7 separate regions of the Homo sapiens genome follow, and all the other regions are linked to region 4. The links are contacts of gene promoters, found by promoter capture Hi-C in blood cells and fetal thymus (Javierre and others, 2016). All regions are on one chromosome and are shown on one strand. Each heading gives the region's core, a stretch centred on a gene start or on the middle of the fragment in contact. The rest is flanking DNA. Distances are from core to core; before and after follow the strand shown.

Region 1 (2,724 bases), core at 33-2,532, 680 kb before region 4:
AGAATATAGTGAGCAACAGAGGGAGATGTGGTTACAAAGTCTAGCAGGGGCCAGATCATGCAGGGCCTAGGGAAGCCACTGAAAATTGTTAAGCAAGGGAGTGATATAATCCCTACCCCTTAGGTTTTCTGAAGATTATTCTGCCAGATTAGTGGAAGTGCAAGAACAGAAGTAGGGAGACAAATAAGGAAGCCATTACATACATCTGAATCAGAGATGTGGTTAATTAATTCAGGAGTGAATAATCAGAAAACCTGTACATGACATCTCAGATTAAAAGATGAACACAAGCTAGCCAAAGAGGGAAGGGCATTTCAGGCAATTGAAAAACATGTACAGTGGCATTAGGTCCCAAGACCATAACCTATTCCAACACTATAAACAGCCTGGTATGGCAGTAGCAAAGGATATGTGGCAAGAGTGTAATCCAAACAAGAAAGTATGGTACCCTGAACTTAAGCCAGTGGTGGTAGGGAGGAAGAGGCAGGGTTGTATCCATATGGTCAACTGTAGTGAGGTGAGGAAAGAGGAACTTGGGATAACCGAGTTTCTGGCTTTGAGTGGGCAGATGACAGTGCCATTGACTAAAATAGGGAGAACCAGGGCAGTGGGAAAGATGAGTTCAAGTTTATACATGCTGCTGTTCTGAAAGAGCCATCTATATAGTAGGCAGCTGGATATATGGAGTTCTCCAGCTTAGAAAGAGGCTGAGGCTGGACATAGTTTGGAAACCACAGGTGAGTAGGCAGTGAGTAAAGCCATGGGAAAGACTAAGCTTACCAGGGAAGTACAAAACGAGAAGAGCTTATTAGTCCAGAACCTGGGACGCACTGGCATTGAAGGAGCAAGAGTTCTAAGATGGGTAATTTTATTGTGAGACATACGGCACATTGTAGGATGTTTAGCACCATCCCTGCACTCTACCCACTAGATGCCAGTAGGACCCACTCAGTGGTGACAGTCAAGACACAGACATGTCTCCAGACATGCCCAAATGTCCCCTGGCGGCGGGGGACAAAATCACCCTAGTTGAGAACCACCAAAATTAAGAGGAGTCTCCAGGATGCTGACAAAGGAGGGTTATTGAATGAACTTCCTTTTGCAAATGTTTTATTCAAAAATGACATACACAAAAATGTATAATCCCTCCCCCAATATAGGATTAGGTGTCACTCACCAACATGCCCAAAATCACATTAAGTGATCAAACCCAGATTGGAACCTGACTTTTATAGTCTGACTCCAAAGCCTGTGCTCTAAGCCTAAATCACTTAACCCCTAACTCCATAAGGTCTCCATTAGGCTTCAAGTGCTGTGAGGAGAGGGCTGATTCAGTCTTTTTCATCATTATAATCCTAGCATTTGGCTCTGACACTTAGCAACAGGAGTTCAAATATTTACTGAATGAGTCACACTTCACACTTAACTCTGAAAATATGCGTTATTCATAGACCTACACTGAGGTATTTAACACTGATAGCTTACAGACAACACGTTAGGGCACCAAGGGGAAGATGCTCCCATCCTGACAAGAAATCAGCAGCATTGGTTTTGAGAATTTTGTTCCCCAGAACAGAGGCTCTGCCATCAACCATTTCACTTGCATTAGCGGAAAGTTCCTCTCCTATTGCCTCCTTATCCAGCACATCCCATGCCGCATTGAGGCCTCAAGGAGATGGGGGAAGAGGAGTGGAAACAAGAATGGAATGGAATATTTTTATTAAATGAACAAATTATAACTTTTGACAGTATCATAAACTGGTAGTCATAGGGAACAATTTTCTATCAAGTAAGCTTTTTAAAAGGTTTAAACCTCTAACCTCTATTCAAAAATGTTGGCCTAGGCTGGGTGCAGTGGCTCACACCTTTAATCCCAGCACTTTGGGAGGCTGATGGGGGTGGATCACCTGAGGTCAGGAGTTGAAGACCAGCCTGGCCAACATGGCGAAACCCTGTTGCTACTAAGAAAACACAAAAACCAGCCAGGAGTGGTGATATACGTCCGTAATCCCTGCTTCTTGGGAGGCTGAGGCAGGAGAATTGCTTGAACCCAGAAAGCAGAGGTTGCAGTGAACCAAGATCATGCCACTGCACTCCAGCCTGGGCAACAGAGCAAGACTCCATCTCAAAAACAAAAAGATGTTGACTGGGCGCAGTGGCTCATGCCTGTAATCCCAGCATTTTGGGAGGCCGAGACAGGTGGATCACTTGAGGTTAGGAGTTCAAGACCAGTCTGGCAAACATGGTGAAACCCTGTCTCTACTGAAAATACAAAAATTACCCGGGCATGGTGGCACATGCCTGTAAATCCCAGCTACTCGGGAGGCTGAGGCAGGAGAATCACTTGAACTTGGGAGGCAGAGGTTGCAATGAGCCAAGATGGCCCCACTGTACTCCAGCCTGGGCGACACAGCGAGACTCCATCTCAAAAGAAAAAACACACACAATGTTTTAGGAACTTGAATAGGTGCCACTTACTGTATATACCTACCTCAGCATATTTTCCCTCACTAATTGGCCCCAATTGGTACCTTTTTGATGAAGGGACTGTATGTCCACAAATTCCTGCTTAAATATTGTGGGAGATCCCTGCAAGGGCTAAGCCAGTGATGTCAAATACTATAATAGACATTGCTGATGTACATTTTTCTGATGTACATATCTACATATGAGGCTCAGAGATATAGCCTCAGAATATTTATCAATATTTCAGGCAGCCACATC
Region 2 (2,700 bases), core at 68-2,567, 740 kb before region 4:
TTCATTTTTTTATATTTCTTACATTCTTTTGTGCTTTTATTTTTCTTTCTGAATCTTTCACTTCTGAATATGTCTTTATTTATCTGCCCACTTACATAATAATTTGGCTGACAACAGAATTGTGGGTTCAGTATCATTGATTCTGGATTTTGCCGTAGGGGAGTACAGTGAGTCAGGGAAGACCCAGGTTTACTTCCAGCTCAGGGCCCTGCATCTCTACCTGCCATGCCTATGCCAGGCCACCATGTATCATCACTATTGTATATATGAGTAACCTTTGTGATATAAACTTAATTTTATTACAAAATGAAACCCTATATGTTGATGCCTACCCCTCTTAATGTTGCTCACATAACTTTGAAAATTAAAAACAGTATTTGTTTCTGGCCAAATAATTAAGACTATGATCTAATTGTTCTTTTCATGCCAGTCTCTGACCTCTGACCAACTATAGTCCCCAAGGTAATGGTACTTCCCTTCCCCTGCTTTTACATCCTCCACAGCATCCAGCCCTTCACTGAGCATATTACAGAGCTCAGTAAATGCTTATAGATTGATTGGTTGATTAAAGGTAGGATGAGGTTGCCTATTAAAGGGTTTCTGATTTGGTACCAGAAAAAAATTTTAAATTCAGTTTAAAACAGAAATTCGCTAGACTCTGCACAGTGGCCAAAGCTGCTTTTTCATAATGTTTAAATTCTTCTTTTCATATAATTTCAGACCCTAGCACTTTTGGAAGAAGAGGAAGATATAAACCAAATTACAGATTACTTCTCCTATGAACATTTCTATGTTATTTATTGTAAATTCTGGGAACTAGATACTGATCACGACCTCTACATCAGCCAGGCCGATCTGTCTCGATACAATGACCAGGGTAAGTGATTCTGTAGATGCTAAGACTTAACCATTTTAAAGAGTTATATAAATTATCACTACTCATTATGAGAAATTCCCGTTTGCTAAATTCTAAACCTAATCAAGTCCTCTTTACAGGCCAATAATTTTTAAGAGGGGATGAGTGAAGATAATATAATTTTTTATTAAATTAATAAAAGGCCAGATGTAGGAGAAGGAGTTTGGAAGTAAGTAACCAATCACAGTCTTAGTTTTGATAAAGCGATGAGTCTTTATACTGGTGTGTATTTTCTGATGATGAATTGAATAAGATCCACACCTGTTTAAATCTGTTTGAAAGAGAATATGTATACACCTTTATAACCCTTCCCACTTAACAATATTTCTGTAAAAAGCCAAGCATGAAAATAATGTTTTTAACTTGCCAAGTTTTATTTTCAAGGACTCACAAAAATTTACTTTTGGAAATTTTGTTCCAGAAAGATACGTCTCTGCAGATGAATTTTGCGTGCTTTCTTTTGTCAGAAAACAAAAAATTACATATCACATGATAATACCCTTTTTACTTCATTTTTGCCAGCGGTAAATCTAGAACCTGTTGCCTACTGATTTAATATCCTTGGTTTTTTTGAGACAGCGTCTCACTTTGTCACCTAGGCTGGAATGCAGAAGCATGAACACGGCTCACTGTAACCTCAACCTCCTGGGCTCAAGCCATCCTACCACCTCAGCCCCTAAGTAGCTGGGACTACAGGCACATGCCACCATACCTGGCTAATTTTTTTGTATTTTTTTGTAAAGATGGTGGTATGGTTTGGCTATGTTCCCACCCAAATCTCATCTTGAATTGTAGCTCCCATAATCCCCACCTGTTGTGGCAGGGACCTGGTGGCAGGTAATTGAATCATGGGAGTGGGTCTTTCCCATGTAGTTCTCATGATAGTGAATAAGTCTCATGAGAGCTGATGGTTTTATAAAGGGGAGTTCCTCTGCACATGCTCTCTTGCCTGCCACCCTGTAACATGTGCTGTTGCTTCTCCTTTGCCTTCCGCCATGATTGTGAGGCCTTCTCAGCCATGTGGAACTATGAGTCCATTAAACTCTTCCCATTATAAATTACCCAGTCTCAGGTATGTCTTTACTAGCAGCATGAGAACAGACTAATATAGTAAATTGGTACCAGTAGCATGGGGCGCTGCTGTAAAGATACCCGAAAATGTGGAAGGGACTTTGGAACTAGGTAATAGGCAGAGGTTGGAACAGTTTGGAGGGCTCAGATAAAGACAGGAACATGTGGGAAAGTTTGGAACTTCCTAGAGACTTGAATGGCTTTAACCAAAATGCTGATAGTGATATGGACAATAAAATCCAGGCTGAAGTGATCTCAGGTGGAGATGAGGAACTTGTTGGGAACTGGAGTAAAGGTCACTCTTGCTATGCAAAGAGACTTGGCATTTTGCCCCTGCCCTAGAGATCTGTGGAACTTTGAACTTGAAAGAGATGATTTGGGGTATGTGGTGGAAGAAATTCCTAAGCAGCAAAGCATTCAAGAAGTGACAGTGCATAAAAGTTTGGAAAATTTGCTGCCTGATAATGCAGTAGAAAATAAAAACCCATTTTCCGGGGAGAAATTCAAGCCCACTGCAGAAATTTGCATAAATAATGGGGAGTCAAATGCTAATCACCAAAACAATGGGGAAAATGTCTCCAGGGCATGTCAGAGACCATCATGACAGCCCCTCCCATCACAGGCCTGGAGGCCTAGGAGGGAAAAATGGTTTTCTGGGCCAGGCCTGGGGCCCCCCCTGCTCTATGCAGCCTCTGAACATGGTGACCTGCATC
Region 3 (2,700 bases), core at 150-2,649, 630 kb before region 4:
AGGAGCCACAGTGGCTTACACCTGTAATGCCTGCACTTTGGGAGGCCAAGGCACAAGGATAGTTTGAGCCTAGGAGTTCAAGACCTGCCTGGGCAACACGGTAAGACCCTCTCCCTACAAAAACTTTAGCTGGGCATGATGGTACATGCCTGTAGTTCTAGCTAATTAGGAGGCTGAGGTGGAAGGACTGCATGAATCCAGGAGTTTAAGGCTGCAGTGAGCTAGGATCGCACCACTGCACTCCAACCTGAGCAACATAGCAAGATCCTGTTTCAATAAAAAGTTTTTTCAAACCGCTTAAAAATAAGCCCACACATAACACAAATTTAGAGAAACAAACTTGAAGAAGATAAAGGCAATTGGCAAAAAGTTAAAGCAATGTGCCTACACAGTAAGTAAAAGCCAAATTTCAACCTAATTGCAAAGTTTGAAGGGCTTTTTCCCTCCCTCACCTCTTCCTCTGAGGCTGTCATAAACACCTACATGTAAGTCACCAGGCAGGAAAGAATGTGAAGCAGAAGAAATACAAAACTGTAAAAGAAAAAACAATGTCTTCCCTAAAAAGTTTATTATATGTATCAAGAAAATCAGACTGATACAAAATCTGCACTCAAAGGAGATATAAGTATCTTATGACTGGAACAAAGGTTTACAGAAGGTTTAGACAAGAAAGATAACTTTTTTATTTTTTTGAGCCGGAGTTTCACTCTGTTGCCCAGTCTGGAGTGCAGTGGTGCGATCTCGGCTCACTGCAACCTCTGCCTCCCAGGTTCAAGCAATGTCTGGAGATCGGCCTCAGCCTCCTGAGTAACTGGGATTACAGGCACCTGCCACCACACCCAGCTAATTTGTGTATTTTTAGTAGAGATGGGGTTTCACTATGTTGGCCAGGCTGGTCTCCAACTCCTGACCTCAAGCGATCCGCCCACCTTGGCCTCCCAAAGTGCTGGGATTACAGGCACCTGGCCAGAAGTAACTTTTTGCTGCAGTGAGCAAGGAAGACTTCACCAAGGAGGCAGGGAGTTGAGTTAGGCCTTTAGAAAAAAGTAGTGTTTTAGGCAGAAGAAAATTAAGAAAGCAAAGATAAAAAAAAAAAGAAAAAGATATAAAAAAGCATGTTTGAAAGGACAAAAATATCAATCCAGTTAAAAGAGAATTATGTAAAACCACAGTTGAATAAAAGGATGAAAAGGTAGTAGCGGGTCAAATCTACAGGACGTGTTGAAACAAATTCCCTAATTAAGCATTACAACAGAATTAAACTTCATTTTTACAAATGCATTATCTTCATGAAATAAGACTGCCCATCCACGAATTTGAATGCACTAATGCTTTTCAGCTAAGGAAAAAAGTCTAGTACATACCTGGTACAAAAATATGTCAATGCTGGGCTGAATTCAAATAACTGATTTTTTTTCTATGTCTTTATAATCATAGACTTACGTCCAAAGAGATGGGAGGAAAAAAACCTGAACCTACATCCCTATTACTGAAACCATGCCAGCTACTCAATCATAAGGGAGAAGCAGAACTCACGATCTTTTCCATAGGATGATGTGAAATAAGAAAGCCCTGTCAGAAAAATTCCCCTTGTGTTGCCAAGACTGACAAAAAATAAAAATAAAAAAGGCTCCAGTTGGACTTTTAAATGTAGTGGGTTTTTTTTATCTTTAATTCCATTATTTAAAGTCCAGGTTAGAACTTGGGAAAATGTTCAATTAGACCACCACTACCATCCGAAAGCTATTAATAGGAACTTAAAACCTCTGAGGTTCTTAACAGTTTTAGGATAGTGGTGGTCTGCACAACTCAAAACTACCATTTCCCACTTAAATTAGAGAGCTAAGTTTCACCCATCTAGTAAACAGGGGACCTACCAGATTCTACAAATGTTAACTGATAATGACATCACTCTCAAATGCTGTTTCAGCAGGACAGAGTGGGCCCTTCCTCTTCCCCCTACCTCACCATAGTAGCACCCTACGGCCGGCACCAAAGGAAAAGAAAAAAAAAAGTATATGGAGAAGGAAGTTATGGCAGCTCCATTTCCTCAGTCCTCAAACCATCAAAATATGTGAGGACATTAAAAAAAAAAAGCACTCCATAAAAGTGGGAGTAGAGTGAGAGGTTACCATGAAACCAGGCAAACTCTTGATACACTTACATTTGTAAAACTTAAGCTGAAAGGAAACTGAATCTAGCCGAAAATTATCATTTTACACATCAAGAAACTGAGGCCCAGGGCAGTTAGGTGATTTGCCCTGGGCGACTATTCCTCTAAGGTGTTAAGTGTCTGTCACCAGTCAGAGTAGCACTTAATGACTTACTCAGTTACTTAAATGTTTATGACCTTAAGTACCTGTCTTGCAAAAAACACCACCGCCACCTCTTCTGCACCCATTCAGTGTCTTGCTTCAGGATCTAGATAGAGAATGCTGGATAAACCTCAAATGAATATTATTTCTCCCTTCAGCCACAACTGTCCCAAATTACTCTTCTTCCTTTATCTACTTTTAAATAAAGTGGAAACCTTAACGTGCCTGAATTTCCCAGGTTCTGACTAAACAAGTGGATCATCAAAACTTCAAAATTTAGGATAGAATATTAAGTGGAGCATGCATATTACTGCTTTGGCAGTTGCCCTTTCTTTTGTATTAACGTTTCAGTCCAGGTTTTTCGAAAAGCAAGTAATTATTACAC
Region 4 (2,866 bases), core at 4-2,503:
TGAGCAGTCTGAATTCCATTCTTGGGTCTACCTAAACTAGCACCCTCGGGCTATGGGGCCCAGTGGGGAGACCACCTAGCATGCTGGCTGCCTGGAGCCCAGGGAACTGTCAAGATGGCTCTGGAAGACTTCTCGCCTTTTAAAAGCCCCGTATTTCTTTTACATATATTTTTGTCCTCATGAATTTTGCCAACCGCAATGGACTAAAATCTATTATAGCGTCCTGGAAAGGTGGGGAAAAGATGGGATAGTTGAGGAGAGTTTAATGAAGGGACTATTTAAAAAGGTGTGGATGGGGTTAAAGGAAACCTCTGGGCGTCATTACCCACTCCAGGCCTGAAGGGGCAAGGGTAGTTAGTGGTAACCAGAACCTGGAGAAAACTGCAGGAGAGGGCCACAGGATGGGAGTAATGGCTTTCAGATGAAGAACATAGCCACTGCTAACAGGGTGGCCCGCTGGGGATGCAGGGGAGGTCCTGAATCACATCCTGCCTTCTGATCTGCAGGTGCCTCCCACTTGCCAAAACCAATTGAAAGCCAGATTATAGTTGACGTAGCCCATAAAGGTCAGTCCTGAGTCACAGAGCAGAGTGGAGAGTGGGTCTGAAGGGACAGAGGAAAAACCAGCAAGCACCTCCTGTTTTTTCCCACAGCCAGCACCTTGGTTCAGCCCTTACCCTTTCTTGCCTGTCCCCTGGACCCATCAAATCCACTGCTTTTAATGACCAGTCTGTTTCCAAGAGGCTATATTCATTCCACTTGGGACTGGGGCATATGCACTTGGGTAGAAGAACCAGCTGTGCAGTGTCAAGACCCTTCCCTCAGAGACCTTATCAGTAAAATGGCGGGTGGACTCGGGGATGCCCGAAGACTTTTCCGGACCACGATTTTCCGATGCTGGACACATATTTAAACATGAAGGAATAGACTTGCGACTTTTAAGCGCAAACAATGGGTGGAAATGGACAGAAACTGCCTCCGTGCCCACTTGCAGCGGACTACGTAGCCCTGGCAGACAGGCAATTGCTTCAAACAAGCGCCCTCCAAGGGCGTAAGCTAGAGGGGCCCGGGCGGGCGCTTTCCCGTGGACCCTCCCACCTCGCGGGTAGAGGAAGTCCTTCAGTTCAGGCACAACCCTGAGCGTCCCCCGCAGTCTCCAACTCCGGCGCCAGTCAGGTTGTGGGGTGGGGGCGGCGGAGGGCGGAGAGCGCAGGCGCAGAGTCCGCGCGGCGGCGCCCCTCTCCCTCCGCAGTACTCCGGGCAGCGCCCGCCTCGATTTTCCCAGGCGAGGGCACGCCCGCGTCAGTCGCCTCCGGGGCACCTTCCTCGCCACGACACGCAGGTAACCGGGCCCCGGGAGCCGGTCGGCGGCGGCGGACTGGGACCTTGATCCTGCCTGCCCGGCCGCCCGACAAGGGAATGAGAGCGGACCCCGAACTCCACACACCCGCGTTTAGCCGCCACACCTAAGGGGCACAACAGTCTTTTTGGGTAAGGGCCGGGCTGGGGGCGACGCGCCCCGCCCGCTTTGCAGACTTCGGGGTGCTCTGCACGACGCCTGAAAGGCCGCGGGGCCCGCATTTCTCTGTGCTGCCCTCCTGGAGAACCGGGACACGGGGACGGGAGGGCCAGCATCGGCTACGGCCCGGTTTCCCGTTTCTTTCCGCTGTCGCGTGTCTGGGCCCTCCTGCAGCGTCCATGATGAAGGCCAGGGGCTGTTGCTTTCCTCTCGCCCAGTAGCCAACCCAAGCAAGGGGTGAGTCACTGTGGCGTCATATGGGATCAATTTCAAATACAAGTTTTAAAAAAGGCTGGATGATTTTAGAAATATGGCCAAGAATTTGTATTTTCCATTACTCTCTTGTCTCATGTCCATGACTCTTGAACGCCAGTCTGTGGGCGCTGAGATTTTCGTGGTACATCGACGGTTTGTAGACATCTTTTCCCAAGGGAAGACGAGGGCAAGGGTTAGTGGAGGAAGGGCCTCGTCACGGCCGAGAGTGGCGGAGAAGGCTCAGGGCAAGTCCGCACAGCCTCCAGCAGCCACGGGGAGGAAAAGGCGAATCTTTCCTCACAGTGCTCTGGGCGCTGTAGAATTTCTACGCCACGTGCACCCATTTGGCCTCATTTGAGAGGAGGAGAGGGAAGAAGGGTCGCGCGGGCCGGCAGGAAAGAGACTCGTGTTGCGGCGGATGAAGGCTCAGCGCGGACCTGCATCTCGGGCCAGGTTTTCTTTCACCCGGCTCCGCGAGGAGCGAGGCGGAAAGCTCGGGTCCGAGTGTTGATCGAGGACCTGGAGATAGTAACCCCCCACGTCCAGAGTGCTGGGGGTGGGTCCAGAGGGCTGGGGGTAGGTCCAGAGGGCTGGGGGTAGCTCCGGAGGAGCGATCTTCCTCCGCGGGAAAGGACTTGGCTCAGGCTTGCCTATGTCCGTGGTGCTGAAGTGCCTCGCGCGCCCTCGTCGACTGACTTCCTGGGCCGCGGCCTGCGTTGCCCTTCTACTCTGCACCTTTGCCAAAAATAGCCCATCTCCATGGCTGGTGGCCAGAGTGGAGCAGGCCCAACACTGAAACTCTTTTCAGACAAGTTGAGGCTGGTTTCCTGAACATAACCCGAAAGCAAATGTGGCTTGCCTTGGAGGTACAGATAAGCATATGCATAACAGATTTTATTACCTATGAGAAAGTACACACCATGAGCGTAAACAGGAATTCTCACATATACTTATGAAAGATACAGGTATGTGCATTTACGCACAAACCTAACACACATGCAAATACACTCATCCCTTTTGAAAACCATTACACACTACAAGCCACACATTTTTTAGAGCTTTTGTAATCCATCTTTATTTTTTGACACTTCT
Region 5 (2,700 bases), core at 150-2,649, 710 kb before region 4:
TTTTACTCTAAAAAAATTACCTTTAAATTTTACTTTTTTTAATAAATGGTATAATTATTGATATTTGTTCTGATCTACAAAGAACATTATTAGTCAGTGCTTAATAAATTCTGGGCACTGTGTTGAAGAGATACTGGATATATGGAGATGGCAGAGATACAAGAACAAAAGGTGGCAACCAAAGTATCTACATTAGGAAAAAGGAAGTGATATGGAGAGAAGGGCTGTTTCCAGGAAGCTATCACAGACAGCGTGGTATCTGAGTTGGCTTTTAAAGAACAAAAATTTGCCAGCGAATGGGGGCTTGGGGAAGGTACATTTCAGGCGGGCCTGTGGCAAACCACAAGTCACTCCAGGTGGCTGCTGTGCAAAGTGCCAGAGGAGAGGGGACCAGAGAAATGTCTCTGATTACAAGGCTAAAGAGTAGACTTACCAGGTGCTATGGCTTGTGCTTGTAATCCCAGCTACTTAGGAAGCTAAGACGGGAGGATCACTTGAGGCCAGGGGTTCAAGACCAGCCTGGGCAACATAGTGAGCCCCTGTGTCTACAAAAAAATTTTAAAATTAGCAGGGCATGGTGGTATGCCTGCATTCTCAACTACTTAGTAGGTGGAATGCCTGTAGTCTCAGCTACTCAGTAGGCTGAGGCAGGAGAATCACTTGAGCCCAGATTCTGAGGTTAGCAGTAAGCTATTGGTGCACCACTGCACTCCAGACTAGGCAACAGAGTGAGACCCTATCTCTTTTAAAAAAAAGAGTTGGAATCAGCCAGCCACGGTGGCTCACACCTGTAATCCCAGCACTTTGGGACGCTGAGGCGGGCAGATCACCTGAGGTCAGGAGTTCGAGACCAGCCTGGCCAACATGGCGAAACCCTGTCTCTACAAAATACAAAAATTAGCTGGACGTGGTGGTACTTGCCTGTAGTCCCAGCTACTTGGGAGGCTGAGGCAGGAGAATTGCTTGAACCCAGGAGGCAGAGGCTGCAGTGAGCCGAGATCGTGCCACTATACTCCAGCCTGGGTGACAGAGTGAGATTCTATCTCAAAAAGAAAAAAAAAGAAAAAAGAAAAAAATGGAATCTATACCTAAAAAACCTGGCTGCTAAACAGTTATAATTTTGCCATTTGAGGTGTAGAAAATTACCTTAGGAGTTTTACCTTAGCACCTCTTTTAAACCTGTTGAAATGAAACATTTTTCAGGTAGGATTTTTTCAGCAGTATACATTTGTGTGATGATCTATCTCCAATTCTTTGTCTTTGATTTTTTTTATTTCTCGTGGCTGTCTTCTTTCCAATCAGGATGTTGAGAACGATGGGCCTGAGCCCTCAGACTGGGACCGGTTTGCCGCTGAGGAGTATGAGACGCTTGTTGCAGAGGAATCTGCCCAAGCACAATTCCAGGAAGGGTGAGTAAGTTTCCCTATGTCTTATAGAATTTTTAACAGGAATGCGCATGTCCAGAGTATTAAAACCCCCTTACAAAATCCTTTTCTGTTTTTTCCATTTTTGAATAGCATAAAAATGTGATTTAGCCAACTTTAGTTAAATGATTATTTTTTCCAGCAATCTTCACTCATTTCCTGACAGAGTCTTCTCATGTCCATTTCCTTTAATGAGTCTCATCTTTCACTGGAAACCGAGATCACTGAACAATCAAACTACTGTTTTAGTGATATTGATAAACCCTGTACATAAAGGAGGAGGCTAAAAGAACTAAAGCTCTGGCCGGGCACGGTGGCTCACGCCTGTAATCTCAGCACTTTGGGAGGCCGAGGCGGGTGGATAACCAGAGGTCGGGAGTTTGAAACCAGCCTGACCAACATGGAGAAACCCTGTCTCCACTAAAAATACAAAAAAATTAGCCGGGTATGGTGGTGCATGCCTGTAATCCCAGCTACTTGGAAGGCTGAGGCAGGAGAATCGGCTTTTACCCGGGAGGCAGAGGTTGCAGTGAGCCGAGATCATGCCATTGCACTCCAGCTTGGGCAACAAGAGCAAAACTCCGTCTCCAAAAAAAAAAAAAAAAAAAAAAAAAAAACTAAAGCTCCTTCAATAATAATAAAGATGATCATGTTTAGAACAAATCTTTATTATACATGGTTTTGTGCAGGAAGTAACTTCTACATGTATTTCTACTAGTCAGGGCATAATTCCATAAAGGGACCATGTTAAGAAATTTAATTATCCAAGAATTTGACTCCTTGGATCACTTCAGCAACTTTATAATTTGCTGGTTTTTTCCATCATCTTCTAGTAACTCCTTTTGTAATTCTTCTAATTCTTCCTTAGTCATAGCTTCTGTAAAGGCCTCAATTAATCTTTCTCATTAATGTAGTGTACTTTTTGAACAGGCACTATTCATATAATATTCAAAGAAACAAAAGAAATAGTAAAAAGTTTCCTACTACCCACTTCTCCTCCCCAGAAGCAACAAGTGTCATCATGTTCTTGCTTACTCTTCCAAAGAGCCTCTCTCTCCACCTATCTATGTATATTTAGAAAGATACATGAATTCTTTTTTTTTTTTTTTTTTTTTTTTGAGACAGTCTCAAATGTGGTCTCTGATGTGGTCCATTCAGGTCAGCCTCCTGAGGCATAGAGATAGAGGAAGAGCAGGTCTAGAGGGATAAACAGAAACTATCCAGCCCCATAGATAAAGTCAAATAGTCCTCAATATAGATTGTACCATTTTATACC
Region 6 (2,704 bases), core at 112-2,611, 770 kb before region 4:
TCCCCTGTCCACCAGCCCCTCCCAGGGCTCCTGTCTGGCTTCTCCCATAGGAGCAGGCACACAGCACAGCCTCCACTCCCCTGCGAGAGCGCTTTTGCCAGTGGCCCCCAGTGGAGCGCTTTTACTGGTGGCCTGGGAGCACCTTGGCTCACCCAGCACAGCTGGTGCTCGACCTCAGGGAGCCAGAGAACTAAGCTACAGGCCTGGTCCCAGGCCCCCAGGGTTAGAGCACACAGTCCAGGAGTGCCAAGCTGAGACTTGTGGTTGGAACTCAAGTGGCGGAAGAGCCCTTACTCTCAGAGCACTGGGAAAAGTGAGGTATGGATTAATGGGCTGGCACAGGAACTGGGCCACAACCTCTACCCAAGGGAGCCTGGCAGTCTGGAACACCTAATAGCCCAGTGATCTGGGTGCAGAAGTCTTGTGACAAACTAGCTGGTTGGGCCAAATTCTGGGCAGTAACCAGGAGACCTGTCAAGGAAGCACAAGCTGGGAAGTTCTCACTGCTATCTGCTGGCCAAAAAAACCTAGGCTGTGGGCACCACACCAGCTGCACGGCCAAGGCAGCATCACCCTACCCAGGGATCCCTCACCCTTGACCTACTGCATGAACAGACCACCCACAGACATACCCCTAACCTGCAGTCTACCTGGTAGCCCTTACTATTAAATGCCATCTCCCAGGTTACAGCTTGAATTACAGCACCAAAAAATTCCAGCATGAATTGCCTGAGAAAACCCAGTACAGGATTCTGGCCACAAATAAAGATCCCATACAGGCCAGGCACAGTGACTCATACCTGTAATCCCAGCACTTTGGGAGGCCGAGGCAGTAAGATTGCATGAGCCTAGGAGTTCAAGACCAGCCTAGGTAACATGGCAAGACTCTGTCTCTACAAAAAAATTAGCCAGGCATGATGGTATGAACCTGTGGTTCCAGCTGCTTGGGAGGCTGAGGCAGGAGGATCACTTGAGCCCAGAAGGTTGAGGCTGCAGTGAGCTGTGTTCACGCCATTGTACTCCAGCCTTGGTGACAGAGCCAGGCTTTGTCTCAAGAAAGACAGAAAACTGTAATCCCAGCACGTTGGGAGGCCGAGGCAGGTGGATCACCTGAGGGTCAGGAGTTTGAGACCAGCCTGGCCAACATGGTGAAACCCCATCTCTACTAAAAATACAAAAAATTAGCCGGGCATAGTGATGGGCACCTATAATCCCAGCTACTCCGGAGGCTGAAGCGGGAGAATCATTTGAACCTGGGAGGCAGAGGTTGCAGTGAGCCGAGGTTGCGCTGTTGCACTCCAGCCTAGGCAACAAGAGTGAAACTCCATCTCAAAAAAAAAAAAAAGAAATCCAGAAGAGATTCCATACAGAGCCTTGGCCCTCTGAAAGCATGCAGAAATAAAGCCAATTGGCTATACTCAGCTTGCACCACAGTCAAACCCTCAAGGGAAATAAAGTAAAAACAAAAAAGCTCCATCCAAAGGACAAAGGACAGCAACATCAAAAGATAAAGGAACACCTGCCCTCACAGATGAGAAGGAACCAGCACAAGAACTCTGACAATTCTAAAACCCAGAGTGTGTTCTTACCTCCAAATGATCTCACTAGCTCCCCAGCAATGGTTGTTAATCAAATTAAAGCAGCTGAAATGACAGAATTCAGAATCTGGATGGTAAGAAAGCTCAATGAAATACAGGAGAAAGTTGAAACTCAATCCAGGGAAAACAGTAAAATGATCCAAGAGTTGAAAGATGACACAGCCATTTTAAGAAAGAACCAAACTGAACTTCTAGAATTGAAAAATTTACTACGGGAATTCCATAATACAACTAGAAGCATTAATAACAACAGATCAATCTGAGGAAAGAGTCTCAGAGCTCAAAGACCACTCCTTTGAATCAATGCAGGCAGACAAAAATAAAAAAGAATTTTAAAAAATGAAAACTCTCAGAAATATGGGATTATGTAAAGAGACCAAACCTATAACTCATTGGCATTCCTGAGAGAGAAGGAGCGAGAGTACGCAACTTGGAAAACGTATGAGGATATAGTCCACGGAAATTTCCCCAGTCTCACTAAAGAGGTGGACATGGCTGAACTCCATGGAGCAGTTTGGAGATTTCTCAAAGAACAGAGTTTACATTTCAATCCAGTAGTTCTATTACTGGGTATATACCCAAAGAAAAATAAGTCATTCTGCCAAAAAGACTTATGCACCCATATGTTCAATGAAGCACTGTTCACAATTGCAAAGACATGGAATCAACATACATGCCCATCAATGGTGGACTGGATAAAGAAAATGTGGTACAGGTACACCATGGACTACTAAGCAGCCGTAAAAAAGAATGAAGTCTTGTTCTTTGTAGCAACATGGATGCAGCTGGAGACCATTATCCTAAGCAAATTCGCAGAAACAGAAAACCAAATACCATATGTTCTCACTTGTAAGTGGGAGCTAAACATCAAGTACACATGGACATAAAGATGAGAACAGGCCGGGCGTGGTGGCTCACGCCTGTAATCCCAGCACTTTCGGAGGCCGAGGTGAGTGGATCACGAGGTCAGGAGATCGATACCATCCTGGCTAACACAGTGAAACCCCGTCTCTACTAAAAATACAAAAAAAAATTTAGGCAGGTGTGGTGGCGGGTGCCTGTAGTCCCAGCTACTTGGGAGGCTGAGGCAGGAGAATGGCGTGAAC
Region 7 (2,741 bases), core at 73-2,572, 640 kb before region 4:
AATCAATTCAAATATGACCTCCAAGAGGAAGCCTTTCTTAATTAACCTCCCTCAATCTGTTGAAAAAGCACTTTACACATTCTCCTATTACAGCACTTAATCACATTATATTGTCATTGTTCACTGGGTCTCACTCAAGGCCAGAAACTTATTTATCTCTAAATCTTTAAACTAGTGTTGGCACATAAGCCAGCACCTAATAAATGTAAAATGAATTAATCATAAAAAGAACATTAAATCTGGGAGTGACCTTGGTAATCACTTGTTCTGTGACCTCATTTTAACCAAGATGGACTTTCATGGATTACATAACTGGGTACTAGCAATGAAAAATAGAGGCTCAGTCTACTGATTCCCAGCCTAGAATTATTTTCACTTATCCAGCACTATCTGTACTTCTATTAAAACAGTCCATGGCATACACAGAGACAATTTTAGCTTCTTGCCCCTTCCCAAAAATGATTACAGAAACTGAGCAATAGGCAGAATAATTAGCCACAAGATATACAACCTTTTATTGGAAAGAAGAAATAGGAACAGGTACTGGCAATAATGGATAGTGACTGAGGCAGGAAGAGCAAAAGGAAGGGGAGGATGGATTCTCAATAACAGGTTTGTGAGGGTCAGGAAATCCTTACTGCACAAAAACTGGACCAGCAAGAGCCCTGCCTAAATTCTCTACACACTAACTTCAATTTTTAAAGTTAGCCTTAAATGCTTCAAGTGGACATATATGCTATAAAGCATTTGTACCATCTTCTGTGTAAAAGAGATTCCAACAAAAAACAAAGATCGGCCTATATACCAGTCTAAAATTTACAGCATCAGAAACCTTAATATGTATATGTATATTAAATGTGTATGCATAATGTATTCATGTGTAATATATATGTTTAAAATAAGTAAATACATATATACTAAACTCATGATTAGACTAAGCTGGTTTTCATTCATTTATAAAATTTTCTGGGAATGTAATAGCAATAAACCGATGCTGATCAACCCAAATAAACACGTACACTCTATTTCTCTTGTGGTATGAGAGTAACTATGCTGAATTTGAGTCATGGCTGGGCATGGTGGCTCACGCCTATAATCCCAGCACTTTGGGAGGCCGAGGCAGGTGGATCACGAGGTCAGGAGTTCGATACCAGCCTGACCAACATGGTGAAACCCCATCTCTACTAAAAATACAAAAAGTAGCCAGACGTGGTGGCGCACACCTGTAATCTCAGCTATTCAGGAGGCTGAGGCAGGAGAATCACTTCAACCCAGGAGGCGGAGGTTGCAGTGAGCCGAGATCGCGCCACTGCACTCCAGCCTGGGCGACAGAGCAAGACTCCGTCTCAAAAAAAAAAAAAAAAGTGGGAGAATACACTTCTCTCACTGATGTCAAAAGTCTGAGATAGGCCAGGTGCAGTGGCTCACACTTACAATACCAGCATTTTGGGAGGCTGGGGCAGGAGGATCACTCAAGCCCAGGAGTTCGAGACCAGCCTAAGCAGCATAGTGAAACCCTGCCTCTACGAAAAATAAACAAAATTAGCCAGACATGGTGGCACATGCCTGTGGTCCCAGCTACTAAGGAGGCTGAAGTGGGAGGATCATTAGAGTCCAGGAGTTCGAGGCTGCAAGTGAGCCATGATCGGATCACTGCACCCTAGCCTGCGTGACAGAGGCCCCATCTCAAAAAACAACAACAACAACAAGTCTGAGATAGGGCCGGAACAATAACCGTTTCATAATCAATTTATCTAAATTTCCCCATTTTTCACCTTTTCCAAATGAAGAGTGAATTGTTTAGCCTATGTTCATTGAATAAAACATTTCTCCTTCCTCCATTACATATGTAAATAATTCCTGGGACCCAGCTATATGCCAAACACTGTGCTAAGCCTGCCACTGTGCTAAGCCTGCCATCACTTAGCAAGGCATTCTCAAACCTTTTTTAAATCTCTGAATTATAGCACCAAAATTAAACTCCAAAATTAAAGATGTCGAGTATGTTTCCAAACAATAACTAGTAGGACATATTCTAGATACATATACAAGGAAATAATCTCTGGATTCAGCCAAACAAAAACGACTATACCATAAAAAGTTAGTATTTATCATTTCCAAATTGGTGCAAATTAATCAACAGTTCTTGGACAAGTAAAACTATATTCTTTGCCCAATATAGTTGTGTGCAGGCATATTTTAAAGTCTAAACTTCTTTTAAAACTTTTCAGTGGCCGGCTGGGTGTGGTGGCTCATGCCTGTAATCCCAGCACTATGGGAAGCCACGGCAGGTGGATTGCTTGAGTCCAGGAGTTCAAGACCAGCCTGGGCAACACAGCAAAACCCCGTCTCTACTAAAAATACAAAAAATTAGCAGGACATGGGGGCATGCACCTGCAATCCCAGCTACTCGGGAGGGTGAGGTGGAACAATCACCTAAGCCCAGGAGGTTGAAGCTGTATTGAGCCAAGATCGTGTCACTGCACTCCAGCCTGGGCAACCAGAATGAGACCCTCTCTCAAAAAAAAAAAAAAAAAAAAAAACTTTTCGGCTGGGCACAGTGGTTCATGCCTATCATCTCAGCATTGGGAGGCTGAGGCAGGAGAATCACTTGAGCCCATGAATCTAAGACCAGCCTGGGCAACTGAGTGAGACCCTGTTACTACAAAAAAAAAAAAATTTAAAAATTAACCAGGTGTGGTGGCACACACCCTTCTCTCTCTTGCTCCTTCTTTCGCCAT

The links. Contacts are between HindIII fragments. The CHiCAGO score rates a contact against its expected background, and 5 or more counts as called.
Region 1: a fragment that was not itself captured here is called in contact with the fragment with the promoter of SLC35G2 in region 4 in 5 of 17 cell types (fetal thymus, total CD4 T cells, naive B cells and 2 more); the score reaches 8.9 in fetal thymus.
Region 2: a fragment that was not itself captured here is called in contact with the fragment with the promoter of SLC35G2 in region 4 in 16 of 17 cell types (fetal thymus, neutrophils, naive CD8 T cells and 13 more); the score reaches 17.0 in fetal thymus.
Region 3: a fragment that was not itself captured here is called in contact with the fragment with the promoter of SLC35G2 in region 4 in 1 of 17 cell types (neutrophils); the score reaches 6.6 in neutrophils.
Region 5: a fragment that was not itself captured here is called in contact with the fragment with the promoter of SLC35G2 in region 4 in 6 of 17 cell types (total B cells, naive CD8 T cells, total CD4 T cells and 3 more); the score reaches 6.7 in total B cells.
Region 6: a contact is called between a fragment that was not itself captured here and the fragment with the promoter of SLC35G2 in region 4, in 4 of 17 cell types (neutrophils, non-activated CD4 T cells, naive CD8 T cells and 1 more). The highest score is 7.6, in neutrophils.
Region 7: a fragment that was not itself captured here is called in contact with the fragment with the promoter of SLC35G2 in region 4 in 2 of 17 cell types (fetal thymus and neutrophils); the score reaches 7.2 in fetal thymus.

What each region holds. Positions count from the first base shown.
Region 1 is chr3:136,141,364-136,144,087 of GRCh38, forward strand. All of the region lies in intron 13 of PPP2R3A (protein phosphatase 2 regulatory subunit B''alpha), which reads left to right. Among named protein-coding and RNA genes, the nearest start is that of MSL2, 54 kb to the right of the region's middle. The HindIII fragment of the contact is 1,019 bases long and covers 774-1,792 here.
Region 2 is chr3:136,081,545-136,084,244 of GRCh38, forward strand. PPP2R3A (protein phosphatase 2 regulatory subunit B''alpha) reads left to right here. Exons shown (of 14, transcript NM_002718.5): 8 at 721-877. Among named protein-coding and RNA genes, the nearest start is that of MSL2, 110 kb to the right of the region's middle. The HindIII fragment of the contact is 7,708 bases long and covers 1-2,700 here.
Region 3 is chr3:136,191,499-136,194,198 of GRCh38, forward strand. All of the region lies in intron 1 of MSL2 (MSL complex subunit 2), which reads right to left. Among named protein-coding and RNA genes, the nearest start is that of MSL2, 3.5 kb to the right of the region's middle. The HindIII fragment of the contact is 3,944 bases long and covers 1-2,700 here.
Region 4 is chr3:136,817,873-136,820,738 of GRCh38, forward strand. It overlaps SLC35G2 (solute carrier family 35 member G2), which reads left to right and starts at 1,254. Exons shown (of 2, transcript NM_025246.3): 1 at 1,254-1,756. RefSeq lists silencers at 1,279-1,338, 2,402-2,451. The HindIII fragment of the contact is 16,057 bases long and covers 1-2,866 here.
Region 5 is chr3:136,104,914-136,107,613 of GRCh38, forward strand. PPP2R3A (protein phosphatase 2 regulatory subunit B''alpha) reads left to right here. Exons shown (of 14, transcript NM_002718.5): 13 at 1,303-1,409. Among named protein-coding and RNA genes, the nearest start is that of MSL2, 90 kb to the right of the region's middle. The HindIII fragment of the contact is 4,479 bases long and covers 1-2,700 here.
Region 6 is chr3:136,045,124-136,047,827 of GRCh38, forward strand. All of the region lies in intron 4 of PPP2R3A (protein phosphatase 2 regulatory subunit B''alpha), which reads left to right. Among named protein-coding and RNA genes, the nearest start is that of PPP2R3A, 81 kb to the left of the region's middle. The HindIII fragment of the contact is 9,390 bases long and covers 1-2,704 here.
Region 7 is chr3:136,173,996-136,176,736 of GRCh38, forward strand. All of the region lies in intron 1 of MSL2 (MSL complex subunit 2), which reads right to left. Among named protein-coding and RNA genes, the nearest start is that of MSL2, 21 kb to the right of the region's middle. The HindIII fragment of the contact is 2,920 bases long and covers 1-2,741 here.